6 separate regions of the Homo sapiens genome follow, and all the other regions are linked to region 1. Evidence: promoter capture Hi-C in 16 types of primary human blood cells and fetal thymus (Javierre and others, 2016). All regions are on one chromosome and are shown on one strand. The core of a region is centred on a gene start or on the middle of the fragment in contact, and the rest is flanking DNA. Distances in the headings are between cores, read along the strand shown.

Region 1 (5,014 bases), core at 1,104-3,603:
TTCCTTTTTTTTTTTGTTTTTTTTTCTGAGACAGAGTCTCGCTCTGTCACTCAGCTGGAGTGCATTTCCCTTCCTTCCTCCCTCCCTTCCACTTTTTTTTTTTTTTTCTGAGACAGTGTCTCGTTCTGTCACCCAGATTGGAGTGCAGTGGCGTGATCTCGGCCTCCCAGGTTCAAGTGATTCTTGTACCTCAGCCTCCTGAGTAGCTGGGATTACAGGCATGTATCACCATGCCACGCCCAGCTGATTTTTTGTATTTTTAGTGGAGACAGTGTTTCACTATGTTGGCCAGGCTGGTCTCAAACTCCTGGCCTCAAGTAATCCGCTGGCCTTGGCATCCCAAAGTACTGGGTTTACAAGCGTGAGCCACTGCGCCTGGCCGAGATGGAGCATCTCAATAAATTTTGTCATTTGGAAGGGCCGACTAGAGCAACAATACAGCTGTAACTAGTATAGAAATAGCAGTCAGTCAATTTTCAAAGAGGGGGATGTGTGGCATTGTGTGGTTAGCATAGTAACCTTGTTTTTATGTAAACACAATTGTGAAAAGGTATTTTTTTAGTTTATAAAATGAATCTAGAATGTGAGACTTCATTTTTTAAAAAACAAAAATATAGATTGATAAGTGTATTAGTCCATTCCCCCATTGCTATAAAGAAATACGTGAGTCTGGGTAATTTATAAAGAGGTTTCATTGGCTCACACAGAGTCCTGCAGCCTGTAAAGGAAACATGGCAGCATCAGCTCAGCTTCTGGGGAGGCCTCAGGAAACTTACAACCATGCTGCAAGGCGACTAGGGAGCCAGCACTTCACATGGCCAGAGTAGGAGGAAAAGAGCGAGGAGTGAGATGCTACACAATTTTAAACAAGCAGATCTCATGAGAACTCTATCAGGAGAACAGCACTAGAGGGATGGTGCTAAACCATTAGAAACCTCCCCGGTGATCCAATCGCCTCCCACCAGGCCCCAACTCCAACACTGGGGATTACATTTCAACATGAGATTTGGGTGGGGACACAGATCTAAACCATATCAATAGGCCAATGTATGTTTATGGGGAGAAAAAAATCTGGTTATCTTTTTTTTTTTTTTTTTTTCCGTGACAGAGTCTTGCTCTGTCGCCCAGGCTGGAGTGCAGTGGCATGATCTCGGCTCACTGCAACCTCTGCCTCTCAGGTTCAAGCGATTCTCCTACCTCAGTCTCCCGAGTAGCTGGAATTACAGGCACGCACCACCATGCCCGGCTAATTTTTGTATTCTTAGTAGATATGGGTTTTCACCATGTTCTCCTGGCTGGTCTCGAACTCTTGACCTCATGGTCCGCCCGCCTTGGCCTTCCCAAAGTGCTGGGATTACAGGCGTGAGCCACCGCACCCAGCCCCTGGTTATCTTGAAGAAAGATTTTAGATGGGTTTTTTTCTGATTTTGCTTTATTCTATTATTTATTTGTATCAACCAATGTAAGCCAGATTCCAAATTGCTAACTATAATGACGATATTTTAACCAAAAAATATAAAGGAAGAAAATAAAATATGTTCCTTCACGTATAGGATCCTCCTTAATGCTACTGCATTAAATAAATCATAGGCATTGGGTGTCTGACATCAATGCCAAGCGCTTCACCAGTTATACTTGCTTTGAAGTATTGGGCAATTTAAGAGCTTCTCTGAAATTTGGTGTTTTTACCTCTTCAGTAGACATAATACCATGAAAAGTGTAAACGAAAGAAGATAGCTTTTCCATGAGGACAGGGCTTCCCCACTGGCCCTCTCAAATGATGATTGTTTTTCCTGCCAAACCAGTGGTACCACAGCGTCTGGAGTAGGGGCTGGCACCTTCTTTGTTCTTCATTGCCTCTCCCAAACCATTGTACTTGCTCACTCTTCCAACTTTTAGTTTTGGCCTCATATTATCAGTTTATAGTAATCAATCATCAATCATCTACTGACCCCTAAAAAGTCATTCCCCATTTAGTCCTTGAAGATTGTATCTCCTCGCTTGTTCTCTTTCCAATAATCCTCCGTAGTCCTGGGAGGCGTTTAGACTTCAGGAATTGCTGTCTATTCAATATTTTCGCTCAAGGACTCAGGCAGAGGGAAGGACGACTCTCAGGGTCACAGTCCACATTCCCTACCAAGCGCTCAGCGATATAGGATTCGTTCCCCATGGGCAGTGCGGGAATCGTAGGCAAGGAGCACCGCGGAGTCCCATCGCTTTTCCCTGAAGGGTGAGATTCTGAACGTTTTTCCCTCAGCATTCTGAGTGTAATCCAAACGCTCAGTGGAGTCGTGGTCCATTTGACCCACGCAGGGGGATCCGGGGAATTCTGGGAAATGTAGTCCCGCCAATCAGTGGAGTCGCGGGCACTTCCGCTCCAGGGAAGAGGGGGCGATTGTCACGGCACATTCCACGGTAGTTTCTTCCAGTTCCGCGACTCGCGGGCCCCTCCTAATGTCAGGGACTTAAGATTGGGGCTCGCTGGGACCTGGTGGTCCGGTTATGGGAAAAGAAGCCTCGTGGGAGAGCAGAGGTTTGGTGGGGCGAGGGCGGCGGCTTTTGTTGTGTCAGCGGAGCCTTCTTGGGCTGGGGCTCCCCTCGTGTCCCGCGGCGGGAGGCGGGGGGCATTGGGACTTGGTTGGGTCGCGTCTCGCCTGGTTTGAGGGTTTCCGGGGCTCTGAGCTCGCCCACTCCGCCTCCCTGCACTCCAGGCGCGCAGTCACTTTTTTACAGTGCAAGGTTGGCGTGTTAATCTCCCTGGGCCTCTCCTTGCTGTTCTTTAAAATGGGGACGTTAGGACCATCTTTGTAGAATCGTTTTGGTAACTGGAATAGGTTACACAACACAAACAGTCCCTGTCACTTGGTGAGTGGTGGTTTCTTGTTACTTTCCCACGAAACCTGTTAGGTCCCCCGGTGGGGTCAGAGCTCCAGCAGCAGGGGCCTCAGCCCTTATCTCTGATCCCTGCAGGACGCTGGACGATCCCGGACGCCTTCTGACCTCTTTTTAGGCAGGCGAGGGTTGCGTCCACTTCCACGAAGGGAGGGGAGCATTTAACTTTTCTCAGGGACAGCGACCCAGTCAGGATGTTTCACAGCTTTCTCCTTCCCCAGCCTGAAAAAGGACTGCGCGGACTGACTTCTTGGCTACTGAAAGCAAAGCTCCACGTGAGTGTGACTTGTCATTTTTCTTTTACAGAGACTGTATCTTTGTAGCATGTGTAATAGGGCATGGGCATTTATAATAATTAAGCCTTAATTGCTAACTTCAATTCTAGGGGATTTATACAATTAGATACGTTTAAGCCGCAACGTGACTCTGTGGAGAGGTACTGGTCATCCAAGTAGTAAGAGGTGAAACTTGGGTTGGAACCTAGGCATTCAGGGTCAGAGCCCGAGTTGATCATCTCTTGGATATATTCTCATTGAGGCAGAGGAACTAGCTGTACTCAGGTGGGGAAAGTAAGTTAGAACTTGATTAAAGGACCTTAAGAGCAAGGCTAATTGCCTTGGAGTTTTCTCAGTTTTTAAAAACTGTCAACTATTTTGTTTCATTTATTACAAATATTTCACATTCTAATAGAACCGTATCACTGTGAAGCATTCAGAAATTACAGAAATACGAAGATACAAAAATTGTAATTACCTATGAAATCAGGATGTAAAGATAGTAATGGTTAAATTTCTAATGCATTTTGTTTTAGTGGTTCCATGTTTATATTACTTATAAATGTTTTACAAAATTTTTATTATACATTTCTCAATGTTTTTCTATTTATCTGCTTATCCATGGAAATTTCCAGATAAAGAGATAATAAACTAGTGACCTGCCATATTCTATCATGCTCATTCTTATTCTTCTCATTATTATTTCTCCTATGACTATTTCCTGATTTTTTAAAAAAACTTTAACACAGTAATTATATAATTTTAAGTCTATAGAAAAGTTGCAAAAATAGTATAAGAGGGCAGGGCATGGTGGGTCATGCCTGAGTCCTGAGTTATGGAACTGAGGCACTCAGGGTCACAGCCCGAGTAATCCCAGCACTTTGGGAGGCCAAGGCCTGTGGATCACTTGAGGCCAGGAGTTTGAGACCCGCCTGGCCAGCATGACAAAAACTCGTCTCTGGCCGGGCGCGGTGGCTCACGCCTGTAATCCCAGCACTTTGGGAGGCCGAGGCGGGCGGATCACGAGGTCAGGAGATCAAGACCATCCTGGCTAACATGGTGAAACCCCGTCTCTACTAAAAATACAAAAAATTAGCCGGGCGTGTTGGCGGGCACCTGTAGTCCCAGCTACTTGGGAGGCTGAGGCAAGAGAATGGTGTTAACCCGGGAGGCGGAGCTTGCAGTGAGCCGAGATTGCGCCATTGCACCCCAGCCTGGGCAACAGCGCAAGACTCTGTCTCAGAAAAAGAAAAAAAAAAAAAAAAGAAAACCCGTCTCTACTAAAGATACAAAAATTAGCCACATGTGGTAGTGCGCGCCTGTAATCCCAGCTACTCTGGTGGCTGAGGCATGAGAATCGCTTGAACCCAGGAGGAGAAGGTTGCAGTGAGCCAAGATTGCACCACTGCTCTCCAGCCTGGGCAACAAGAGCAAAACTCTGTCTCAAATAAATTAAAATAAAATAAAATTAATTTTTATGAGTAGATATACTTGTTAGTGGGCAACATACTGTAAAGACCAGCATCCCCTGTTCCCCTGTTTGCTTATTCATTCATTCAAAAGTAAATATTCTATCAATATGGACTCAGAACGCAGTCTTGTTAAATTAAATGACATGTAGATTAATAATTTTTTTCCAACTTTATTGAGGTGTATTTTATGTATCAGAATTCACCCATTTCAAGTGTACAATTCAGTAATCTTTAGGAACTTTGCTGAGTGTAGTAATCATCATCATCATTTAGTTTAGATCATTTTCATCCCCCAATTGGACTCCTCTTGCCCATTTACAGTTAATCCCCATTCTTATCCTAAATCCCCATCAACAAGTAACCTACTTTCTTTAT
Region 2 (5,014 bases), core at 1,589-4,088, 340 kb after region 1:
TCCCGTGTGAAGTCCACAGTCACAATTTTGAAGTTCACTCCTTCCTAAAAAAGGACACACATTCCTGCTCAGCTGGGCATCATTTCCTTCCAAAGTTCATGGAGGAGGAAAAGTCTGACAGATGGAAAAAGGAAAATTGGTGACCTGGGAGTTGTCCTTAAATTGTCAGTGCCCAAAAGATTCCAGTCAAGATGTACAGGTGCCTTCTGGGTGAGCTCTTTGGGTTTTGGATGCTGGACCTGTTTTTACAACTCCAAAGAGGAATACCAGATAAGAACTGATATAAACTATTTTATTTTGTCTGCCTTAAAAAGGATGCTTATTCTGACTTTTGCACTGGTGAATATAGAATTCCCACTTAGGAATTCCCTCTAAATTCCCAAGAAATTAATGAAACAGGGGTGGTTGATTTTTTTCTGTCAAAGGCCAGATAGTAAATATTTCACACTTTGCCAGCCATACAGTCTCTATCACACTACTCAACTCTGCTGCTATAGCAAGAAATTAGCCACAGAAAATATATAAACAAATGGGTGTGGCTACATTACAATAGATCTTTATTTACAAAAACAGCCACAGGCTGTACTTTGCTAATGCATGAGACAGAAAATGAAATGTGGACCTCGATGAAAAGCAGTATGTATAGGTGAAGAACACTGGATGTAGAAGATACAAAGACTTGGCTTTCTCACCTATAAAGGGCATATATCTGCTTAAGAAATACATCTAATCTGACAATCTGTCCTTTTTTTTTCTTTTGAGACAAGACCTCACTCTGTTGCCCAGGCTGGAGTACAGTGGCACAATCATGGCTCACTGCAGCCTCCATCTTCTGGGCTCAAGTGATCCTCCCACCTAGTCTCCCAAGTAGCTGGGACTACAGGTGTGCATCACCGTGCTTGGCTAATTTTTAAAATTTTGTAGAGACAGACCCTCAATATATTGCTTAGGCTGGTCTCAGACTCCTGTGTTCAAGGAATCTTCCCATCTCAGACTCCCACAGTGCTGGAATTACAGGGATGAGCCACCACACCTGACCCAATTGTCTTTCCCTGGCGAGTTTATTCCATTTCTATTTATTAGGCCTAATAATACCTAAATCATTGGGTTGAATGAATAATTACGATGATCTATGAAAAGCCACTAGCAGAGTTTACTGATGAAACAACGAAGGCCAGCAATTACAGGCTGAGTATCCCATAGCTAAAATACTTAGGACTGGAAGAATTTTGGATTTCAGATTTTGAAATATTTGCATTTACATGAGATGCCTTGAAGATGGGATCCAAGTCTAAACACAAATTCATTTATGTTTCATATACACCTTAAACATATAGCCTAATGGTAATTTTATGCAATTTTTAAAAAAATTTTGTGTATGAAACAGTTTTGACTGTTTTGACTATGAGTGGTCGCATGAGGTCAAGTGTAGAATTTTCCACTTGTGGCATTATGCTGGGGCTCCAAAACCTTCCAATTTTGGACAATTTCAGATTTTTGGATTAGGGGTGCTTAGCCTGTACTGTTATGATTAGTAGGTCTCAGGATCCTCAAAGATTAACTGAGAGCCAAAGTGACCTTTATTCTGAACTCTCAGTCTTCAAATAACAGTTCTGTTTCTATCCATATCCAGCTGCATGGCAGAGCCTTTTAGGAGACGTTTGCTGTTATTACTGCCATATAAATGGGGTCTCTTGGGCTGCCTCCTCTAAGCAGGAAAGGGCCTGTTCTTAAGATAACTGGGCAGGAATTTTAATCCAAAAGAGAAGTGCTAAGGGTGATCTGTCCTTACCCAGGCACAGCAAAGGCAAGGGGAAGTCGAATGCCTCTTGCCACTAAAGGCTCTTTAAATAGACCAGGCATTCTTGAGCTGCAGTTCATGAATAGGATACAGGGTCCTGAATGCCATGAAAGCACATGCAAAATACTGCTGTATATGCCTCTAAGTTTGAGCCTAAAAATTTCACTGAAACCTCAAATGTTTTCATGATTAGCCCAACGTGAAATTCAAAAAATAACTCGCCAACTGCTGCCTGTATTTAACATTAATCTTTAAGGTATTGTCTTTCAATCTGTAATGCATGCTTCTTTTTAATAAACACTCCCCCTTTCTGTGTAATATAGGTCTCTTTAGTATAAAGCTTGTTCAAATGTCAAACAGATAATACTAAACTAGATTAGCACCCCCACTCCACTCCCAACTATATATTCTCAAAGTTCCATGGACTTCTATAATCACACTTTCTTATTTGCAGAATGGTCATCTCTGTCACTAGGCCATGATCCATGAAGGCAGGGACAAGTATTTACAGTTTGCAAATGTAACTCCAATGCTTAGCATAGTGTTTATATATAGTAGATATTACATTTATATTTCACAAATTATTTCAGTAAGTGAATGAACACTATCAATAAACCTTATAAGATATCAAAATAACCCTCACCCAAATTGATTTAAGTCATCCCCCCTCACCTGAATCTCACAAGCTGTACCACATACCCATTTGAAAAGGCCCCTCAATGTGCAGATACTAGCTTTTCTGGACTTCTATCCCACTTATTCTATTCTTCTCACTTGTCCCAAATTCCTCATGCCTGAAAACTCCTTCCCAAAATCTTCAACTGCCCTTGAAACTCATCTTTTGTAACAATAAAATAGGATGGGTAGGGCGGCTCATGCCTATAATCCCAGCACTTTGGGAGACTGAGGTGGGTGGATCATTTCAGCCCAGGAATTCAAGACCAGCCTGGGCAACATGGTGAAACCCTGTCTCTACTAAAAACACAAAAAATTAGCCAGGTGTGCTGGTGCATGCCTATAGTCCCAGCTACTCAGGAGGCTGAGGTTTGGAGAATCACCTGAGCCTCGGAATTCAAGGCTGCAGTGAGCCATGATCACACCATTGCAGTCCAGCCTGGGTAACTGGAGTGAGACCCTGTCTCAAAATCATAATAACAATAAAATATTGCAGTTTCAGTATCCTTCACCAAACATTCCCTATACATCCCTGTGTTAATGGAGACTTATACTTCCTGCTGATGACTTCCCTCCTCCTCAGTCCTCAGAGGCTAAGAATGCTCATACTCTCCCATCCTAGATCTCAGCATCAAAGAAGGAGTGCATGTCCTCCCAGTTACTCTGAAACTCATGCCATTTACCTCACTTCTTGGAGCTCTGTCCTACCCACCTCCTGAACACCACCCCCACCCCATTCACTGAAGATTCATACTTGGGATTTATCCTCTAATATAAGAACTTGTAGTGTCTTATCTCATATTGTCTATAGCATCCACTTGTATAGTCAGCTGATGAGAATATAAAAATAACTGACTTTAATGAAGCACTTATGAGTTTGCATGAAGCACCACCATGGTGCCAGGCATTGTGCTAACATGTCATATGGATTATTCATTTAATTCTCAAAGGGCTCCTGTGAGAAAACACTATTAGCAGTATTATTTTTTTCTTATGAAGACCAAGGGAGTCAGAGAAATTAAGACATATGCCTAAGGTTAGTAGTAGAGGGATAAAACCTCAAGCTTGCACATTGATGACTGTGTTCTCAGTCATCAGTTCATATGGCTAACCCAAGTCTCATATTCTGAAGCTGCTCTTCATCAGCTCATTCTTCGGGGGACACCCCAGACCTTGAAATTGTCATAAAACACTCCACCTTTTGAATCACAAATACAAAACTGCCCACGTTTCACTACAATGTCAGATTGCTCCACTGTATTGGCTCAGTTTTTTCCCTTTACTCTTGTTCCTTGAAAGTTTAAGGCCATTATGCTACCGAAATGTCTACTATTACCACTACCAGCCTATATTCTTTTTCATTTCTACTTAGTGGGCTCTTTATCACTTCCATATTAATTACTCAATTTAAGGTTCATGGATCATTCTTTTTAATCTTTCTACTTGACGTATTTTTAAATTCTCTTTCAAGTATTCCCTTGACCTTTGGAGTGTCCACTCCATAGGAAGTGGACCTGGCAAATTACAAAAACTAAATGAATCTGAATGTCAATCTGCTATCTGTGGAAAGTGGGCTACAAATTGCCACTGCAGGGAAAAATCCACAAAAGCAGCAGGATAGAGTATTATAAATTAATGGCCACTATCTCTGAATGAAACTTTCAGATTGACCAGCAATCCTATTACATTTACTGGAGCAGCCTGTTTCCTCTCATAATCCAAAATTGCTATTTTAAGCCTTCTCTACCCTTGTCATACATCTCTCCATTCCAATTCCCACCATCATGCTCATCTGATTTTTCGCAGTGAAAGATCAAGCTTTCAAATAATTCCCTCAACCTCACTGTTCCTATATAAATCCTTCTCCTCATATAGAGCTAATTTATTCAAGATGTTCTGAATTAATTTCTCTGGTGCTAACCAAGGACTGTGCTTTATAGTTTCTCTCTTGTTGCCTGATGAATAACTTTTTTTCCTCTACTAACTCCTTCCTGTAATCATTTAAACTGAATTGAATATTTTCAATCCCTTTAAAAAAAACCCTCAATCTCAAAAGTCCTTGAAGTTTTCACTTTCTTCTACCTTCCACACAATAACCAAACTTCTTGAAAAAGTTGTCCACTTTTGTCTCCATTTCCTCACTTTCTTTCTTTCTTTTTTTTTTTTTTTTTGAGATGGAGTCTCACTCTGTCGCCCAGGCTGAAGTGCAGTGGCGCAATCTCGGCTCACTGCAAGCTCTGCCTCCCAGGTTCACACCATTCTCCTGCCTCAGCCTCCCGAGTAGCTGAGACTACAGGCACCCGCCACCACACCCAGCTAACTTTTTTTGTATTTTTTTAGTAGAGACGGGGTTTCACCGTGTTAGCCAGGATGGTCTCGATCTCCTGACCTCATGATCTGCCCGCCTCAGCCTCCCAAAGTGCTGGCAGCCACCGCGCCCGGCCTATTTCCTCACTTTCTACTCACTTCCCAGCCATGCACATTTCTCAGTGTAAAGACAGAGGCCTTGCCCAACCTACCTGAGATGGGATGGTCAGA
Region 3 (5,014 bases), core at 1,108-3,607, 300 kb before region 1:
TTACAATATGCATCCTTAATTTAGCATGGTCTACTTGAAATTAATAACATACTACTTTGTTGTATAATGTAAGAATTTTACTAATCTGTAAACTTCATTCAGCCTGAAAAGCTTCCTTTAGCATTTCTTGTGTTATATGGCTACTAGCAGCTAATTTTATCTTTTTTTTTTTTTTTTTTGAGACAGTCTCACTGTGTCACCCAGGCTGGAGTGCAGTGCCATGATTTCAGCTCACCGCAGCCTCTGCCTCCCAGGTTCAAGCAATTCTCGTGCCTCAGCCTCCAAAATAGCTGGGATTACAGTCGTGTGCCACTATGCCTGACTAGTTTTTGTATTTTTAGTAGACACAAGGTTTCACTGTGTTGGCCAGGCTGGTTTTGATTTCCTGACCTCAGGTGATCCACCTGCCTTGGCCTCCCAAAGTGCTGGGATTACAGGCATGAGCCACTGCACCCAGCCTTCATCTTTCTTATTTTTGAAGGATATTTTTACCAGATATGAATTTCCCAACTGATATATTTTTTCTTTTAGTTAGCTTCAAAAATGTTCCATTATCTTCTGAACTCTATTGTATATAATGATTAGACAGCTATGATTCTTATTGTTCATTTTATATATACTTTATTCTCTGTTATTAAGTTTTTTCTTTATTTTTGGTCTGTAATAATCTGACTATAAAGTTCTAGATATGGTTCCTTTACATTTATCATGCTTCACTTTCCCTTACCTTTGATCAGTGGGTTGATTTTTTTATTGAATTTGGAGAAATTTCAACCATTGTATCTTCAAATACTTTTTTCTGCTTCTTTAGTACTTTTCCTCCTCCTAAGACTCCAATTATATGTGTGTTAGACCACTTATATGGTGCCACCAGTCACGGAGGTGCAACCCCCAGTCTTTTTACTCTTTGTACTTCAGTTTGGTAATACCTATTTACCTGTCTTGAAGTCACTGTTTTTTTTTTCTTTGATAGTGTCCAATTATTGTTAAGCCTATCCAATAAAGATTTCATTCCACCTACATTTTATAGTTATAGAATTTACATTTGGTTTTGTGGGTCTGCTTTTATTGACTGTATTTTCTCTAAATCTTGTGTCAAATTTTCCTGCTTCTTTACCGGTCTTACAATTTCTCATTGTATACTGGCCATTGTAGATGCCATGTTGTAGTGACTTGGGGATTTTATTATCTTCCTAATAGTTAAACTGTTCAGGCAAGCAGTTAAATTAATAGCAGATCACAATGATCTTTTTAAGAGTTGATTTTTGAAGGCAGGTACAGTTTGGTTTTATCCTTAGTCCTGGACATAATTCTTACTCTAGGTAGGGCAGTGGTTCTCAAACTGTGGACTGAAGACCCCTGGGAGTTCCCAAGAACCTTTCAGTGGGCCAAACCTTTCACAAAGTGAAAAATATTCTCATAACAATACTGAGAGGTTTGCCTTTTTCACTGTGGTGACACTTCCACTGGTGGTGTAGAAGCCATGGTGAATCTTCTCTGCTTTAGCATGAGCAAAGGCAGAGGCACCAAATAGTACTAGTAATCATCATATTCTTTACCTCCACACACAAAGAAAATGTGTTAAGAAAAAACCCATTTTCACTTAAGAACATCTTGAAGAAGCAGTATTCATTTTATTAAATCTCAACCCTTGATTATATATACATTTAAAAAATATTCTATGTAATGAAATGGGAAGTATCCATTAAGGTCTTCTGCTGTATACCAAAGTATGATGGTTGCCTTGAAGAAAACCACTTGTACAGTTGTTTAAGTTGTGAGTTAAAGGCCAGGCTCTGTGGCTGATGCCCGTAATCCCAGCATTTTGGGAGGCCAAGGCGGACAGATCACAAGGTTAAGAGATCGAGACCATCCTGGCCAACATGGTGAAACCCCATCTCTACTAAAAATACAAAAATTAGCTGAGCATGGTGGCACGCGCCTGTAGTCCCAGCTACTCGGGAGGCTGAGGCAGGAGAATCGCTTGAACCCGAGAGGCGGAGGTTGCAGTGAGCCAAGATCGTGCCACTGCATTCCAGCCTGGTGACAAAGTGAGACTACGTCCCCACCCCCAAAAAAATTGTGAGTTAAACCAACTGCTTTTTTGACAAAACACCATATTTTTCACCAAAGAATGAAAAACTTTGTTTGTTCAGACTTGGGCAGTAGGAAAACATTTTCTTGCAAGTGAGCCTGTCACTTCAAAAATAACTAATATTTGTTGCCAATGATATAATTCAATCTGTCATGTTAAAATTAGAATTTTGTAAAATGTTTATTCATAATTTTGAGCTTTATAGCTTCCTAATACATTAAGATTTTTTATGAGATGGGTGGTAATATTAACATGTGATTTTTTGATGTTGTATAGTGAACTACGTCAACATTTCAAAGATCTGCATAACTCTTTGAATCAGTATTTTCCAAATGACCAGTGTATGATGTTACAAAATTACACATGGATAAAAGATTATTCAAAGTGCAATGTAACATAGTATGAAAAGTTCACAGATATGATTTTATATTCCACATTGTACTTAACCTGCCAGACACTACCATTTCTTAAGTTTTAGGGTGGTGTCAAAGAAAAATATCCACAGTTATCTGCATGGACTAGTAAAATATTCTGCCATTTTCCAACTATGTACCATGAGAGGCTAGATTTTCTTCATATACTTCATATATATGATTTTCTTCATATATTTCAACCTAAATAACATATTGCCATAGATTGAATGCAGAAGCAGATATGAGAATCCAGGTGTCTTTTATTAAACCATCCATTTAAAAGATTTGAAAAAATTTAAAACATCTTTTGTTTTGTTTTAGAAAAGATTATTTTTATAACAAATCATTTATGTTAACAGTTAATGGTTTATTGTTATTTTAAGTGAATTAGTAAATATCTTAAAATTTCTCTGTTTAAATTTTTAACATGACAAATATCAAAATATATAACTACATAAACTAAAAGTCTTTTGGGTCCTCAATGATTTTTCTTGACATTTAAGAAGTTAAACCCATATTTATTTACTGACACTGTAAAACCTTACATAAAACATAAGTAGTAAGTAACTAAAATGTTAAATCTAAATCTATAATGTTAAATTAAAATCTAAGCCTTACATAGAAATTAAAATTCGCTAAACTACTGATGCTATGTTGTACAAAACTGTACTCCTTTTAGTTCATAATTGGTCACCTCCATATTCAGTTGGAATATTAGGTTGGTCAGCTTAAATACTGTGGCTTTGTTTTGGTTATCCACAGAATCTTTACACCCAAATGTTAATGCATAAAAAGCAGCAAGACATTGTTAAATGAAACAGCAATAGTGCAGTTTAGACCTGTGACCAACTATATATGATTAAACTTACTTCCCACATTCACATCACAATAATCATCCATCATTTAATAGCTCAACCAAAATGTTATACAGTCATCAACAGGCAAGGCACATGAAAACCCCGCACAACCAAGAATGATTTGGGCCCAAATGTCAGTAGATTTGAGTTTGGAAAAACCTTCTTGTAGTTGTTAAGGCTCAATGGCTCTGGTTAATTTAATATAATAAACAACAACTTCATAATGGAAAAAAATTAAATCCTCTATTGAGGTATAAAACCTAATTAATTTATAAGGATAAAGTAAGTGACTACCTTGAAGTCAAAACACATTATGGACAATGAAAGAGTATTACGATTGTTCCAAATTGACAAGGGTATTTAAACCTAGGTACACAATCTTTCTTAAAATTAATTTATAGAAAGTCATAACCTGTGGGTACATGAATATGAATATACATCTTCTCCAACTTGACAAGTACATTATTGCTGGGACAGGTACCTTTTAATAACAAGTAACTTATTAGCCTAGAAAGGCCAAACTTCTCTTTTTATTGTCAGCTTTTGGTTTTTAATATACCTGGGGTTATATAAACAAAAACACAGTCATAGTAGTTTTGGGCTAAGTAAATTCTGGATTATGTCAAAGAAACCTGATTGTTTCTAGTATCTTTTGTAAGCGAAAGAGCAAATCTTTGTGCTTGCTCAGTGGCCTTTTAGGAAACCTGAAAGGCAGATTTTATGTGAAAGACATAATCTGTTACAATCTGTTTCATTATTCTGAATTGGAAAAGGCATTAACAAAAAGAGTTGTCAGAGGAGCTTTTGACAAGAACAATAGTTGTGACTAATTAATCAGAACATCAACACAATATTTAAAATAATGAGAAGGTAGCAAGATTTTAATTTTTATTTAAATAAAAAATTCTGTTCTATTTAAAAATAGTTTAGATGTGTAGTATAAGGTAGCTAAAAGCATGAAAATTATTTGACTCTTAAAATTTGAAGCATACACAGAAGTGTGGCAAAATTATGCAGATTTATTTTCTTCATGTATTGAAGAAAAAGAATAATACTTTAATTTCCTCATATAGAGTGGACAGTTTACTCCAAGATCATCATTTTCCCTTAGCTAGCAGTCTTTTCTATCATATCATACTTATGTCACTTTTTTCATACATTATATGACATAGCATTTCCCATATGCATTTAAACCTGCTAATATTGTCAATATACCATGCTGAATGACACTATAATTTAAAGCTTTATTTTCAATTTTAAAATATAATTAACAGTATTAATGTGTTATAAGATGATGTGTGTATCACATTGATTTTTGACAGGGTAGTTTGAGCTTAGTTGAGTGAAAATATGTTTAACAATGGTCAAGAAATAAGTAAACTTAATTGAAAAATAACTCAAAATATTTGTTCTTCCTCTTTTATGAATATCTTCTTAGGAACTTTTTATGCAACCAGAAATTATTTATTAGTAACTCTCAAGATCATTTTGTCTAAGTGAATTGGAGATCTTATAATTTAAAGTGATCCTTAAATAGCAATACAATTACTGTTGATTTTTAAAATTGATAGACATTTAAAATTTTTAAATAAGGTAAAATCTATAGAGTCACATAATTGCAGCATTATATGAAGTTATAAAAATCAATC
Region 4 (5,014 bases), core at 1,221-3,720, 280 kb after region 1:
CCAGCCCAGACTCCCCAAGATCCATGCTAGCCTCACCCAGCTTCTCCCTCTCCCCTCTCAGAAACTCAGACTTAAGAGGAAGCTTCTCACCAGGGATCCGGGGCTACCATTCACCATCCCCTAGGGCTTCACCACACTCACCTCTGTCATCACCAGAATCCCACAAGCTCCCATTTCCCTTTCCTCACCATGATGGGCAATCAATGAAGCCATTGGGCTCTCCCGTGTCCTCCTCTGGGCATTCTTTAGAATCACCACGTTCATCAATAATATACCACATGTTCTTACTGCCGTCACCCAGCAGCTCACCCCCAGCTCTCGGGGACTCTTCTGTGTCTCCCAGCTCCTCCCCAGACAAACCAGATTTCTGACCCAGTCAGCCTGCCGCACCCACGAAGCCGAGAGACACTTACAGACCTCACTGGCATCCTCCCCTATGTCTCCCATCTCATCACCCCCAGCCCCATGCTCTTAACACTGAACTATCTATGTCTCATATATACAGCAGCAAAACAAAACCAGAGAAAGTGGAAAGCAGATAATACAGAAAAAACAGAGGTGAATGAAATGAAAAATATAATTTTCTGGGAATATATAGAGAACGCAAATATATTTAACAAGCAGTATAAATGCTAAATAAAACTACAACCTCAGAAGAAACCTTAGGTTAATCCCCAAATAGGAAATCTATTCTGAATGCTCTAAGAGGGAAATAACACCAACCTTCAATGAGGTGATTATTACAATAAACTTTTCCAGAGAGCAGAACGCGCTAGGAGCTTCTTATTATATTACTACCACAAATCCTAGTATAATTTTGATAACCAAATTATACCATAATAGAACAACAACAACTACAACAACAACAAATAAAGCCAGAAAACTAAAGGAAAATGTTTCAACGAATAGGACTGCAAAATTGTATGAAAAGCAGCAAACAAAATCCAGCAATATATTGAAATTTTTACAGTACAACAGTAATGCATGGAAATTAATCATTACTACATTTAGCAATATAAATCATCATATTAAGAAATATTACTTTCTAAAACATATCACCATGAAAATAAATGTCAATCAACAGTTTGAAAGTAATTTTCTTGTTAATATATATAACAGGAAAAAAGATCAAAACCTAGAAAAAATACACAAAAAGAGTTCATAGATAAGATGAATACCTAAACAGAAAGAAACAAGGAGTAAATAGCAAGGGAAATACAAAGGAATAAGCTTATAAGAGGATGAAGAGTCAGGGAGATGTGGCTCACACCCGTGATCCCATCACTTTGGTAGGCCAAGGCAGGAGAATCACTTGAGCCCAGGATTTTGAGACAAGCCTGGGCAACATAGTGAGACCTCGACTCCACAAAAAAAATAAAAGAAAATTATCAGGTGCAGTGGTGCACACCTGTAGTTGCAGCTACTCAAGAGGCTGAGGATCTCTTGAGGCTCTGATCCGACCATAGCACTAAAGCCTGGGTGACAGGCTGAGATCCTTTCTCAAAAAAAAAAAAAAAGAAAAAAAAAAAGAGGATGGCCAATATCTCCTACCTGGAAAAATTCACATAACGTAATGCCATAATTGTTCACCTGATGGAAAAAAATAAAAGGATTAATAAGAGCCAGGTTTTTTTGTTTGTTTTTCTTTTCACATGGAGTCTTGCTCTTTCACCCAGGCTGGAGTGCAGTGGCTTCCGCCTCAGCCTCCTGAGTAGCTGGGACTACAGGCGCCCACCACCACACCCGGCTAATTTTTCTACTATCAGTAGAGACGGGGCTTCACAATGTTGGCCAGGATGGTCTCGATCTCTTGATCTCGTGATTCACCCGCCTCAGCCTCCCAAAGTGCTGGGATTACAGGTGTGAGCCATTGCGCCCGGCCTAAAATTTTTTTTTAATTAAAAATTAAATAACTAAAAAATGGGTGAAAGACATGACAAGGCAGTGAAAAGAAAAATGACAAAAACACATCAACTATGACCACCTTGACTGTTAGCAATAAAATGAAAACCAACATCCTTTTTATATATCAAGTTGACAAAGATTAAACATTTTTATTATAAATCATGTGATCCTAAATAGTGTGAGAAAATAGACCCTTTTACATTTTAGGCTCAGCGAAAAAAACAAAAACTGTTTTTCCTCTGCTCTCACATCACAACAATCAACACAGAAGATTCCTGTGACAACATGTCTGGGGATTTCTCTCGGTCAGTCAAGCACACCATCCATTCTGCTGTGGACGCCAGCTGGGTGTCTTCTAATTCAATGATGACACTATCTACCTGGCCATAGCATTAGATTCCACAGGGCTCAGTTCTGCAAGACTCGCCTCCCACTGTAATAACAATGGCAAGTCCTATGTTGTTTTACCTGTGCTTCTGACCAACTGGGTATAAATCAGGTTTCCACCACTCCCTGTTTCAGTTGAATTAATTTGCTAGAACAGCTCACACCACACAGGGAAACACTTACATTTACCATTTTATTATAGAGGATGTTGCAAAAAATTCAGAAAAAAAGATTCATGGGGCCTGGCATGGGGGGAGGGGTGCACTACCTTCCAGGAAGTTTTATCCAGAAGCCCTATAAACCCAGTCCTTTTTTGTTTTTATGGAGGCTTCATTACATAGGCATGATGGGTTAAACCATCGGCTATTGGTGATCAACTCAACCTCAGGCTCTCAACCCTCCCTGGAAATTGGGGTTGAGGCATTGCCATTCTTGGTCTGAGTAATAGAATTTACATAAACGGAATTTTAAAACAGATTAGCATAACTGAAAACTTAATTAGATGGTCTAATTATCTGGAGCCACACCTTGATATTCCTAACCTCACCACCCTCATCCTATGAATGCTCCACCCACCTGGCCCCAAAGTCTCTACATGGTTCCAGAGCAGAAGAATGTTTATACAATGCATATCTCCACTTTTTCTTAAAAGTCTTTTTGCTTACATGGGTAATTCTTAAACTGCCATACATCAGGGTCAGGGGGAAGGCTTGAGAGAACCTAGATTTGTGGATCTCCGGGGCTTGAGGGTTGCAAGGATGCTGCTGGTCTCAAAACCACAACGTGAGAACCACAGCACTAGATAGTTTTCAATGCATTTAATTAATAATATATTTGGCCAACAAAATTTCTAATTTCTTAGATTGTCCCAAATGCGTCACATGACATCAAATCAGGAGAGCAGTTTCCTAGGAGATGGAGCCTGGAAAAGTTGGGGGAGACACATGAAAGGAGGAGTGAAGCTCCGCCCTTTCTGCTGCCAGGCTGCACCTGAGGCTATTTAAACCCACCCTGGCGGGCCTGTGCCCAGATCTTCCCAGAGCAGAGCAGTGGCTGCAGTGTCACTGCAATGGCCACCACTGCCAGAATGGTGTTACATCAGTCTATTCAAAAGGCTCATTTTGTTAATGATTGGCAAGCCAATTCCACCCAAATGTGGAATTCTCAACAAGGCATTGATCAAAAATTGGCTAATCAAATTAATTATTTAAGACAGTCTGTTACTTGGCTTGGAGATTGGGTAGTGAGTCTCAAACATCGAATGCAAATGCAGTGTGATTGGAACACTTCAGATTTCTGTATCACCCCATGTTCCTATAAAGAGACTGATCATTCATGGTAAATGGTCAAAGGACACCTTCTGGGTAGGGAAGATAATTTATCATTTAATTTAAGATAAATTAAAGAAACAAATTTTTGAAGCTTCTCAAGCTCACTTATCCATTGTGCCTGGAGCTGAGGTGTTAGATCAGGTGGCAGAAAATCTTTATGGATTAAACCCCATGACTTGGATTAAGTCTATTGGGGGCTCCTCTGCAGTGAATTTTGGAAATATGTTTCTCTGTTTAATCAGCTTGTCTTTAGTGTGTGGAACCAGTCAAAGAATCCTGAGTCAAAATTGAGAGAACGAACAAGCCTTCATCACCTTGGCACATTTATATAAAAAAAAAAAAAAATGGGAGAGATGTTGCGGGAAGTCAGGGACTCCGAACGTTGGGACAGGCTGAAGCCATGGCAGAAGAACATAAATTGTGAATATTTCATGGACGTTTATCATTTCCCCAATCAATACTCCTGTTTTTTCCTATGCCTGTCTTTAATCTCTTAATCCTGTCATCTTCGTAAACTGAGGATGAATGTCGCCTCTGGACCCTGTGATGATTGCATTATCTGCACAAATTGTTTAAAAAATATGAAATCTGGGCACCTTGAAAAAAGAACAGGATAACAGTGATGTTCAGGGAATAAGGGAGATAACCATTAGATCTGGCTGCCTGAGAGCCAGGCAGAACACAGCCATATTTCTCTTCTTTCAAAAGCAAATAGGAGAAATATTGCTGAATTCTTTTTCTCAGCAAGGAACAGCCCTGAGAAAGGGAATGCGTTCCTAGGGGTAGGCCTCTGAAATTGCAGCTCTGGGGACGTCTGTCTTTTATGGTTGCAGATAAGGGATGAAATAAGCCCTGGTCTCCCGTTGCACTCCCAGGCCAATTAGGATGAGGAAATTCCCGCCTAATAAATTTTGGTCAGACCGGTTGTCTGCTCTCAAACCATGTCTCCTGATAAATGTTATCAATGACAATGCATGCCCAAAACTTCATTAGCAATTTTAATTTTGCCCCAGTCCTGTGATCTCACCCTGCCTCCATTTGTGTTGTGATATTTTATTACCTTGTGAAGTATGTGATCTCTGCGACCCACACCCTATTCGTACACTACCTCCACTTTTGAAAATCACTAATAAAAACTTGCTGGTTTTGCGGCTTGGAGGTGCATCACGGAACCTGCCAACATGTGATGTCTCCCCCAGACACCCAGCTTTAAAAATTTCTCTCTTTGTACTCTTTCCCTTTATTTCTCAGACCGGCCAACACTTAGGGAAAATAGAAAAGGACTCTTGTTGAATCATCATGGGTGGGTTCCCCCAGTGCATAGGTATACATAGGCCATGGTGATTTGCTGTATGCATCAACCCATCATCTACATGTGCCATGGTGATTTG
Region 5 (5,014 bases), core at 1,794-4,293, 270 kb before region 1:
CCTGCCTTTTTTTGTTTTCCATTTGCTTGGTAGATCTTCCTCCATCCTTTTATTTTGAGCCTATATGTGTCTCTGCACGTGAGATGGGTTTCCTGAATACAGCACAGTGATGGGTCTTGACTCTTTATCCAATTTGCCAGTCTGTGTCTTTTAATTGGAGCATTTAGTCCATTTACATTTAAAGTTAATATTGTTATGTGTGAATTTGATCCTGTCATTATGATGTTAGCTGGTTATTTTGCTCGTTAGTTGATGCAGTTTCTTCCTAGTCTTGATAGTCTTTACATTTTGGCATGATTTTGCAGCGGCTGGTACCGGTTGTTCCTTTCCATGTTTATCGCTTCCTTCAGGAGCTCTTTTAGGGCAGGCCTGGTGGTGACAAAATCTCTCAGCATTTGCTTGTATGTAAAGTATTTTATTTCTCCTTCGCTTATGAAGCTTAGTTTGGCTGGATATGAAATTCTGGGTTGAAAATTCTTTTCTTTAAGAATGTTGAATATTGGCCCCCACTCTCTTCTGGTTTGTAGGGTTTCTGCTGAGAGATCCGCTGTTAGTCTGATGGGCTTCCCTTTGAGGGTAACCCGACCTTTCTCTCTGGCTGCCCTTAACATTTTTTCCTTCATTTCAACTTTGGTGAATCTGACAATTATGTGTCTTGGAGTTGCTCTTCTCGAGGAGTATCTCTGTGGTGTTCTCTGTATTTCCTGAATCTGAACGTTGGCCTGCCTTGCTAGATTGGGGAAGTTCTCCTGGATAATATCCTGCAGAGTGTTTTCCAACTTGGTTCCATTCTCCCCGTCACTTTCAGGTACACCAATCAGACGTAGATTTGGTCTTTTCACATAGTCCCATATTTCTTGGAGGCTTTGCTCATTTCTTTTTATTCTTTTTTCTCTAAACTTCCCTTCTCGCTTCATTTCATTCATTTCATCTTCCATTGCTGATACCCTTTCTTCCAGTTGATCGCATCGGCTCCTGAGGCTTCTGCATTCTTCACGTAGTTCTCGAGCCTTGGTTTTCAGCTCCATCAGCTCCTTTAAGCACTTCTCTGTATTGGTTATTCTAGTTATACATTCTTTTAAATTTTTTTCAAAGTTTTCAACTTCTTTGCCTTTGGTTTGAATGTCCTCCCGTAGCTCAGAGTAATTTGATCGTCTGAAGCCTTCTTCTCTCAGCTCGTCAAAGTCGTTCTCCATCCAGCTTTGTTCCGTTGCTGGTGAGGAACTGCATTCCTTTGGAGGAGGAGAGGCGCTCTGCTTTTTAGAGTTTCCAGTTTTTCTGTTCTGTTTTTTCCCCATCTTTGTGGTTTTATCTACTTTTGGTCTTTGATGATGGTCATGTACAGATGGGTTTTTGGTGTGGATGTCCTTTCTGTTTGTTAGTTTTCCTTCTAACAGACAGGACCCTCAGCTGCAGGTCTGTTGGAATACCCTGCCATGTGAGGTGTCAGTGTGCCCCTGCTGGGGGGTGCCTCCCAGTTAGGCTGCTTGGGGGTCAGGGGTCAGGGACCCACTTGAGGAGGCAGTCTGCCCGTTCTCAGATCTCCAGCTGCGTGCTGGGAGAACCACTGCTCTCTTCAAAGCTGTCAGACAGGGACATTTTAAGTTTGCAGAGGTTACTGCTATCTTTTTGTTTGTCTGTGCCCTGCCCCCAGAGGTGGAGCCTACAGATGCAGGCAGGCCTCCTTGAGCTGTGGTGGGCTCCACCCAGTTCGAACTTCCCGGCTGCTTTGTTTACCTAATCAAGCCTGGGCAATGGCAGGCGCCCCTCCCCCAGCCTCGCTGCCGCCTTGCAGTTTGATCTCAGACTGCTGTGCTAGCAATCAGCGAGACTCCGTGGGTGTAGGACCCTCCGAGCCAGGTGCGGGATATAATCTCGTGGTGCGCCGTTTTTTTAAGCCCGCCGGAAAAGCGCAGTATTCGGGTGGGAGTGACCCGATTTTCCAGGTGCCATCCGTCACTCCGTTCTTTGACTTGGAAAGGGAACTCCCTGACCCCTTGCACTTCCCAAGTGAGGCATTGCCTCGCCCTGCTTCTGCTCCCGCACGGTGCGCGCACCCACTGACCTGCGCCCACTGTCTGGCACTCCCTAGTGGGATGAACCCGGTACCTCAGATGGAAATGCAGAAATCACCGTCTTCTGCGACGCTCACGCTGGGAGCGGTAGACCGGAGCTGTTCCTATTCGGCCATCTTCAAAACTTTGGGATATTTAGCTTACCTTGTTTCAAAGCTTAATATAAAGCTATTTCATAGAGTGTAGTATTTGTATAAGGAAAGTTAAATATATCAGTGTAACAGAAGACAGGCTCCAGAAATAATTCCAAATATATACAACCAATTGATTTATAAGAGTCACCTATGCAAATCAATGAGGGAAATAATTTTTTATCTTAAAAAATCTATTTGGAGAGATTTTATAATAAAAAAATTCCTGCAAACTATTCAAAAATCCATCAATAGAAGAACAGATGAATAAACTATGGTATATTCATACCTTGAATATTACTAAATAGTAAAAAGCTATAAACTACTAATCTAAGGAATAACATAGCAGAATCTCAAATTTTTCTATTGAATGAAAGAATTAAGGAATAGTAGTATTCATAATGTATGATTCCATTTACATGAAGATCAAGATAAGGTAAAACACATTAATTGTAATAGAAATCAGAACAACAGTAGCCTTAGGAGAATGAAAGATAAGAAGCAAGAGAGAACTTTTAGGAATGATGGAAATGTTCTGTAAGTGTCTTCCTGTTGCAGATACTCTGAATTTTTGATGAGTTGGGGATGAGTCCTTACGTGGAAACATTCATGGAAAGTATTAGCTCTGGGTTTTTTTTTTTGTTTTATTTTTTGTTTTTGACAAGAGCTCACTCTGTTGCCCAGGTTGGAGGGCAGTGGCACCATTTCGGCTCACTGCAACCTCCGCCTCCCAAGTTCAAGCAATTCTTGTGCTTCGGCCTCCTGAGGAGCTGGGATTACAGGCATGCATCACTGCACCAGGCTAATTTTTGTATTTCTAGTAACGTCGGGGTTTTGCCATGTTGGCCGGGCCAAGAACTCCTGGCCTCAAGTGATCCGCCTGCCTCAGCCTTCCAAATGCTGAGATTACAGGTGTGAGCCATTGTGCCCTGCCTTGATGTATTTATTTGAATACTTCAAAAAGAAGAAGAGTTACAGTGATACTAAGGAAATAATTATTAGTAATTAAATGGAAATACTTAGTACTTTATAATTAAATTATTATTCTAGGTTGAAAAGTAAGTATGGACAAAATTTAAAATTTAAAATAAATGAAGGCATATTACACAGAATTGAGTGGAGACCAGTACTATGGTCAGAATTGTAAAAAATGAGCCTGGAAGATAATATACTATGAATTTCATGATGAATGTCAATTGCAATTTGCTGTGAGAGAGCAAAAAAAAAAAGCTGTTTATTACATAACAAATTAAATTGTTAAAGAGAAAAATATTGTGAAACATTTTCAGCAAATACATAGTAAATTTGATGAGACGTTTTCTCTTGAGAAGCAAAATGGAATAGATGAAGTTAGTTGCCTGAAATTAGAATTAAATGTCCAACCAAAATATTTAAACAATTTTTAAACAGAATCTGAGTTTATAACCTTTTTGAGCTATAAAATGGCTCTGATTCTTGCACAAAAAAGAAATGTTGGATATAGAGATAAGATAAATTATTAGTTTGGTTGCAAAAATCTTGTTAGCATATTCTGAGAAAGACTAAAATGATCTTATAAAAAGTAAAAAAAAATTAAGTCACCTAAAAACTGCTCATAGAATACAAGATATTTCTAACAATATCATGGATCAATTAATTCAAAGTTAGCAAAAGCTTCAAGTACTCTTCTTTAGCCATATATGAGTTGTGCAATATAAGATAATTTAGCCCAATTGATACTGTGGGTACATTTTGTCTCAAAAGATCCCCAAATAAAAAAAGCTGTCAATTCGCAGCCTACAAAACCAGAGTCATGACATAGATATTTTTGTCTTTTATATCTGTCAAAGAAAAATTTCTGTTAGGTATCAAAAAATATTTCTATCACAATAGATGATACACCAGCTGTATTAGGTTAAAAATCTGAATTCCTTGGAATTTTAATGCAAGAGACTGATGTCTCCCTAACTGCTTTGCTCTACTGTATAAAGAATATACCTATGAAGTATATACATGTAAATATTATGAATCACGACTACTTCATGGAACTGTTAAAAGAAATAGAGGTCAGGCTTGGTGGCTGACGCCTGTAATCCCAGCATTTTGGGAGGCTGAGGGGGGCGATCATGAGGTCAGCAGATCAAGCCCATCCTGGCTAACACGGTGAAACCCCGTCTCTACTAAAACTACAAAAAATTAGCCAGGTGTGGTGGTGGGCACCTGTAGTCCCAGCTACTCGGGAGGCTGAGGAGAATGGCATGAACCTGGGAGGCGGAGCTTGCAGTGAGCCGAGATCGCGCCACTGCACTCCAGCCTAGGTGATAGAGTGAGACTCCGTCTCAAAAAAACATAACAAAACAAAACAAAAAAGAAATAGAGAACAATTAATCTTATGTTCTTTCCCAATGCTCATCTGTTTAATGGTGTAAGACATTTACAAAGATTTCTCGTACTTTGAACTCCAGTTCAAGATTTTCTTTAAAGAAAGTTTTCCAAATATTTAATAATAAAGGAAAAAGAAGACAGTGATTTTTTTTCTCACCAGTATCACATTGCATATGAATAAGCAAAATCTGAAACTCCAAGGAAAGGAAAGCTTTTTTTTCGTGACCTAGTGAAAATAATAGGAACATTCATTGAAATGAAAACTTTTCACTGTATAAGTTCATAATAATGATTTTATATATTTTTCTAGCATGAATCAATATATAGAGGATTTTAACAGGACTGAAAAGCCTTGTGAAAAGATGCATGCAATGAAGAAATAGGCAATCTTAGTAAAGAAATAGGAACTATAAAAGTACTAAAGGAAAATTCTAGAACTGAAAA
Region 6 (5,014 bases), core at 1,858-4,357, 260 kb after region 1:
TCAGGCAGCTGTCATCCCATAAATCTTTCTTCAGGTTTTAGCAACTGCCTCCTCCCTTAGCCCTTCAGTCCTAAAGTCAGTAAGTTACCCTGCTATCACTAGCTCTGAAATATTGCAGTATCCTTTGTTGATTACCACAGCCTGCCTACAACTTTATAGATTGTCCCTTTATTAAGCTCTTCTCAAATTACCCAATTTGAGTGTTCTGTTTATTTTTTATTGGGATTCCATCTGATAAACCCTGTAAACACAATTGCCTCTGGCCTTTGTGGAGAAACTTATTGTATAAAATTGCCACTTTAAGCACTGTGGAAACACCGAAGATTAAAAAACAAAAGCCCAAAGCCATGTTTCTGCCTTCTCAGATAGTGCTTCTCACACTATCTGTGATAAAGGACTAGTTTTTAAATTATTATTACTGTTACTTTCAGTCTGTCACAGACTGATATTCTGGTAAGATACAGTAACAAGAAATTACCAGAAAAAGGAAATTTAGAAGGTATGCAAATTAAAGCCCAATTGTTATTATTATGTTAATCAATAAGACAAAATTTTCAACATCTACACTCAAGTTCTCAAATTATCTGGTCACAGACCAATATCATTTATTGGCACTGGTCTGTGGGCTACCCTTTGAATTGCAGCTCACAGGGTTATAGAATCAGGTTAATAGAATGTGAAATGTCTTTTTGGTAAATCCTTGGACTCTTTTTCTCTCCTTTCCTACCTTTAAGAGACATCATTAATCACTTCTTATTTTGGGCTCCAACAAAGGCCAAAATAAGGAGGGTTCAACTCATTAGTACAGCATGAATTACATCGTTTTACAATAGTTAAAACCTACCAAGAAAACACTCCTCCTTTCCCCTGTCAAAAAACTACAAATCCTAAAAAAAAAAAAAAATAACCAAGCTGTAGTCTTTTATCCACTGTACTTGGTAAGGATCTTATCATTTAACAAGCACTCAATCAATGTTTCTCAATATTAACAAATGCACAAATAGAATTGGCTTGGATATTATACATTAGATGCACGTGCAAAGACATAAACTCACCCTCTACTTCCAGTACCTGTTCTCACTGAAGAGCCAATAATGGGACAGGTTTATTTTGAAGCACACATCCACACACATGCACTCACACATATATGGTTGGGGGTTTGGTTTCCTGAATTTCTGGCTTCAGACACTACCTGCCTGTATCAAGTCAGGGCCGTGGCACGAACCAGACGGCACATTGAAATTTGAGGAGAGTTTAATAAACAGACGGCTTACAATGGTGTTGGCTCGGGGTAAGGAAATCACAATGGATAAGGCTCTATCCTGGGGAGTGACAGGGAGGTGCCATTATAATACCTGGGCCTTAAGAGGTAAGGGGAGGGAGCAGTCCCTGGAGCCTGGAACTAAGAGGACTGTGTGGCCAGGGCCACCCAAACTATGACCTGTTGTTTAGAAGGGCAGCTAATCTGTGACAATCCTGCAGAGAGAGAACTGGGGGACAAGATACTCCAACTCACACTTCTTCCTCTCTCCAAACTTTCCTGTTGAGACTTCCCATTGGCCAAAGACAAGCAAGGCCAGAAGGCAATGGCGGCCTTTCAGGGCAGACAGCAGGGTGGAAAAGGTGGGGAGCCAAAGGCATGGGACACATGGCACCTCAAGACTCTTGTTTTTTCCCTATCTGCCAAAGTCCACACAGCTCTCGCACACAAATGCCTTTCTCATCCCTCACCCTGACAACTACTCTGATCTGAGGAATGCATCAGGAATGAGACCAGATGCCCATATCAACTTCTTCAGGGAATGAAGACCTAGAGGAAAAGTGCAGCTGAATCTGGAACTGCAATTGCCCAGAAACACGATCAGAAATGTAATAAATGCTGCTATTACACCTAAAATAATTAACACTAAATCTCTAACTTTATCAAATATACAGAGAGTGTTCAAACTTCAAATTTGTTGAGTGTAATTTAACAACTTATATTTGCTAATGTGCTTTATAATACTCAAAGTCCCTACTCCCTGGCTCACAGCATGTGAGGTGAGAATGGAGTTAATAATTTGGGGCAGTTCTTTTCTTTTCTTTTTTCTTTGAGACAGAGTCTGGCTCTGTCGCCCAGGCTGGAGTGCAGTGGCGTGATCTCAGCTCACTGCAAGCTCCGCCTCCCGGGTTCACGCCATTCTCCTGCCTCAGCCTCCCGAGTAGCTGGGACTACAGGCGCCTGCCACCGTGCCCGGCTAATTTTTTGTAATTGTTTTTTGTAGTAGAGACGGGGTTTCACCGTGTTAGCCAGGATGGTCTCGATCTCCTGACCTCGTGATCCGCCCACTTTGGCCTCCCAAAGTGCTGGGATTACAGGCGTGAGGCACCGCGCCAGGCCTGGGACAGTTCTTTTCAAAATGTATTCGGTGACATTAAACTCTGGAGTTATTACAGTATTACAGTCTGAGTTGTTTCTTTATTGCCAAAAGCCAGAACCTCTGCCTTGAAGTCATAAATGCCCCAATGGAGTCAGAGCTGCCAAAATCCAGAGTTCAGACCCAAGACAACTCCCCATCCAAGAACCTAGGGGTGCTGAGCCAGAATCGCCCCCACCAAACTGAGCGAGAACAGCCGAAGCCATCCTCTATATCCAGAGACTAGCTGCTTAAGCAAATCCCTCATCCCATTCAGGGACGCACAGTCCAGCCATTACTCCAAAACCCTGAGCCAGCGCCCCTCTGCCCTCATCCAGAGATGCACATCCCAAGACTGACCCTAAGCTTCGACCCGAGGAGGCACAGCGCAAGTCGCTGTCACGAAACGTGAAGATGCACTGTTTTGTCAAACCCAGGGCTGCTCCCCAAACCGAGCCCACGCTCGAGCCCACGCTCTTCCCATCCTATCCCGGGTAGGTCGGGCCGCTGAACTTCCCTAGTCTACCCCACCTACGAGGCCTTATCATTGGTTACCAGTCCCCTCTTCCACTCCTCCTACTTCAGTCCACAGGGACGGGTCACAGCTGCACATCCTACACTCCTACTCCTGGCTACGCCTCCAAGAGGGGCGCGGTACAGACGGGACTCACCCCAGCGTCCCAAACAATGTCGCCCGCAGCGTGCGTCCAGTACCATGGCGCATGCGCAAGGAGGCCTATGGCCTACAATCCCCAGAAAGCCCCGCGCGCAGCAGTGGCCATTCGCAAGGCTACCCTGGTGAAGGTGGCCTTTGACTTCCGTGCATTTGGAAGTCCTTTGACTTCCGTGCATTCGTCTAAAATAACGACAATCATAATAACGATAAAATAATGAAATGTTAAATAAATCACTATCAACGATGAAAAGAAGTTTCAATATTTTACTACTTGGAAATGGGCACTTTACCGTTTTAGTGAAGACTTTTATAAGTTCTTATTTTATAGGCATGTCTTTTAACGTTAAAACCACGAAACTTTTCAATTAACACTCACTTAAATAATTCCCTCCCCGCCCCCCACCATGTTTTATTTCTGTTGATGAAAACTCTGGATAATCTACACTTGCGATATAACATAGCCCTGTAATTTATTTCCTAGTCTCAGAAGAAGCAGAAGGAATTAACAACTATTGTCTGAATCCTTAACAGGGGAATTGCAGGAGTACTGAGAGTGTCCTAAAAGAGACACATTACAACATAACAAGAAAACGCGGGAAGTTTTCAGATTCTTTTTGAAAATTTGCCCTTGTTGAGACTTAGGCTTTATTTTACTTCATGTTATTGCATTTAAGATTTAAGATTTCTATTAAAGAAAAATTTGGGTACCCTAAATGGGGTAAGAAAATTGAATAGGAATTCCATTAGAGGCCCACAGTTTTAGCCTGGAGGAAAGCCCTGATAACGTGTGAGAACAATCTGTCTCCTAGGAAAGGTCACCTGGTCCTGCTGGCAGAGTCTCTGTTTGGAATATCTGGCTGGCATTCCCTTTTCCACGCACCCTCAAGCTGTAGGGGTGGTGAGGCGGTTCCAGTCCTAGACTAGATAGAGAAGTGAAGACCCCCACCTCTACGCAATGGGCAGGAAATGGTTGAATAATATCCAACTATAGCTTGACATCGCAGCTTAGGGCACATAAAGGGACAGTGCAATTGTTTTGGCTTATCTCTGTCTTTTGATGTTTACATGTTTGATGTTCTTATATATTGCTCTAAGTTGAAGGATTACTTGATTTAATTTGACATACTTGAATTTTAAAAAACGAGTTCAGGAACATTTTTATTTTTGACCTAATACAAGGTTAATTTTTGTGACATCTGTGTCTGTTGGAAAACAATGTGTCTTCTCTATCAGATGGATATGCATACATTTATATTTTCCCCAGACTTGCTAACTGTGCTATTTAAATTTCCTACATGCTTATTTGTGCTTACTTAGATTTTTTCATTATGCATCTGTCAACGATTGAAAAGTGCATGTCAAAAAGGTTCCCAGTCTGGGCGTGGTGGCTCAAGCCTGTAATCTCAGTACTTTGGGAGGCCGAGGTGGGCAGATCACGCGGTGAGGAGTTCAAGACCAGCCTGGCCAAGGTGGTGAAACCCCATCGCTACTAAAAATACAAAACTTAGCCAGGCATGGTGGCAAGCACGTGTAGTCCCAGCTACTTGGGAGGCTGAGGCAAGAGAATCACTTGAACCCAGGAGGTGGAGGTTGCAATGAGCCGAGATCATGCCACTGCACTCCAGCCTGGGCGACAGAGCAAGACTCTGTCACCAAAAAAAAAGAAAAAAGAAAAAAGTGAAAGAAAAAAAAGCCTATAATGGTAAATTTGTCATTTTCCTCTCTATAGCATTTGCTTTATTTATTTATTTATTTATTTATTTATTTATTTCCTTTATTTTTTTTTTGAGACTGAGTCTCGCTCTGTTGCCCAGGCTGGAGTGCAGTGGCGCCATCTCAACTCACTGCAAGCTCTGCCTCCCAGGTTCACACCATTCTCCTGCTTCAGCCTCCCGAGTAGCTGGGACTACAGGTGCCCGCCACCAGGCCCAGCTAATTTTTT

What was found. The method cuts DNA at HindIII sites, captures the fragments that hold promoters and counts their contacts. A CHiCAGO score of 5 or more calls a contact.
Region 2: a contact is called between a fragment that was not itself captured here and the fragment with the promoter of ZNF234 in region 1, in 16 of 17 cell types (total B cells, total CD8 T cells, naive CD8 T cells and 13 more). The highest score is 11.3, in total B cells.
Region 3: a fragment that was not itself captured here is called in contact with the fragment with the promoter of ZNF234 in region 1 in 7 of 17 cell types (M2 macrophages, naive CD8 T cells, non-activated CD4 T cells and 4 more); the score reaches 8.0 in M2 macrophages.
Region 4: a fragment that was not itself captured here is called in contact with the fragment with the promoter of ZNF234 in region 1 in 1 of 17 cell types (monocytes); the score reaches 5.2 in monocytes.
Region 5: a fragment that was not itself captured here is called in contact with the fragment with the promoter of ZNF234 in region 1 in 12 of 17 cell types (naive CD8 T cells, M2 macrophages, M1 macrophages and 9 more); the score reaches 8.4 in naive CD8 T cells.
Region 6: a contact is called between the fragment with the promoter of ZNF285 here and the fragment with the promoter of ZNF234 in region 1, in 10 of 17 cell types (total B cells, monocytes, naive CD8 T cells and 7 more). The highest score is 10.0, in total B cells.

The regions. Positions count from the first base shown.
Region 1 is chr19:44,139,201-44,144,214 of GRCh38, forward strand. It overlaps ZNF234 (zinc finger protein 234), which reads left to right and starts at 2,354. Exons shown (of 6, transcript NM_006630.3): 1 at 2,354-2,533; 2 at 3,114-3,167. RefSeq lists enhancers at 2,382-2,781, 2,536-3,126, 2,792-2,841. The HindIII fragment of the contact is 9,485 bases long and covers 1-5,014 here.
Region 2 is chr19:44,479,366-44,484,379 of GRCh38, forward strand. It overlaps ZNF180 (zinc finger protein 180), which reads right to left. Exons shown (of 5, transcript NM_001278509.3): 3 at 4,996-5,014; 4 at 1-44. Among named protein-coding and RNA genes, the nearest start is that of ZNF180, 19 kb to the right of the region's middle. The HindIII fragment of the contact is 1,399 bases long and covers 2,140-3,538 here.
Region 3 is chr19:43,841,274-43,846,287 of GRCh38, forward strand. The region is part of intron 6 of ZNF283 (zinc finger protein 283); the gene reads left to right. Among named protein-coding and RNA genes, the nearest start is that of ZNF283, 16 kb to the left of the region's middle. The HindIII fragment of the contact is 4,496 bases long and covers 110-4,605 here.
Region 4 is chr19:44,415,957-44,420,970 of GRCh38, forward strand. No RefSeq gene overlaps it. Among named protein-coding and RNA genes, the nearest start is that of ZNF285, 17 kb to the left of the region's middle. The HindIII fragment of the contact is 2,484 bases long and covers 1,229-3,712 here.
Region 5 is chr19:43,865,107-43,870,120 of GRCh38, forward strand. No RefSeq gene overlaps it. Among named protein-coding and RNA genes, the nearest start is that of ZNF404, 16 kb to the right of the region's middle. The HindIII fragment of the contact is 1,628 bases long and covers 2,230-3,857 here.
Region 6 is chr19:44,398,501-44,403,514 of GRCh38, forward strand. It overlaps ZNF285 (zinc finger protein 285), which reads right to left and starts at 3,108. Exons shown (of 4, transcript NM_152354.6): 1 at 3,068-3,108. RefSeq lists an enhancer at 2,505-3,261. The HindIII fragment of the contact is 3,728 bases long and covers 2,761-5,014 here.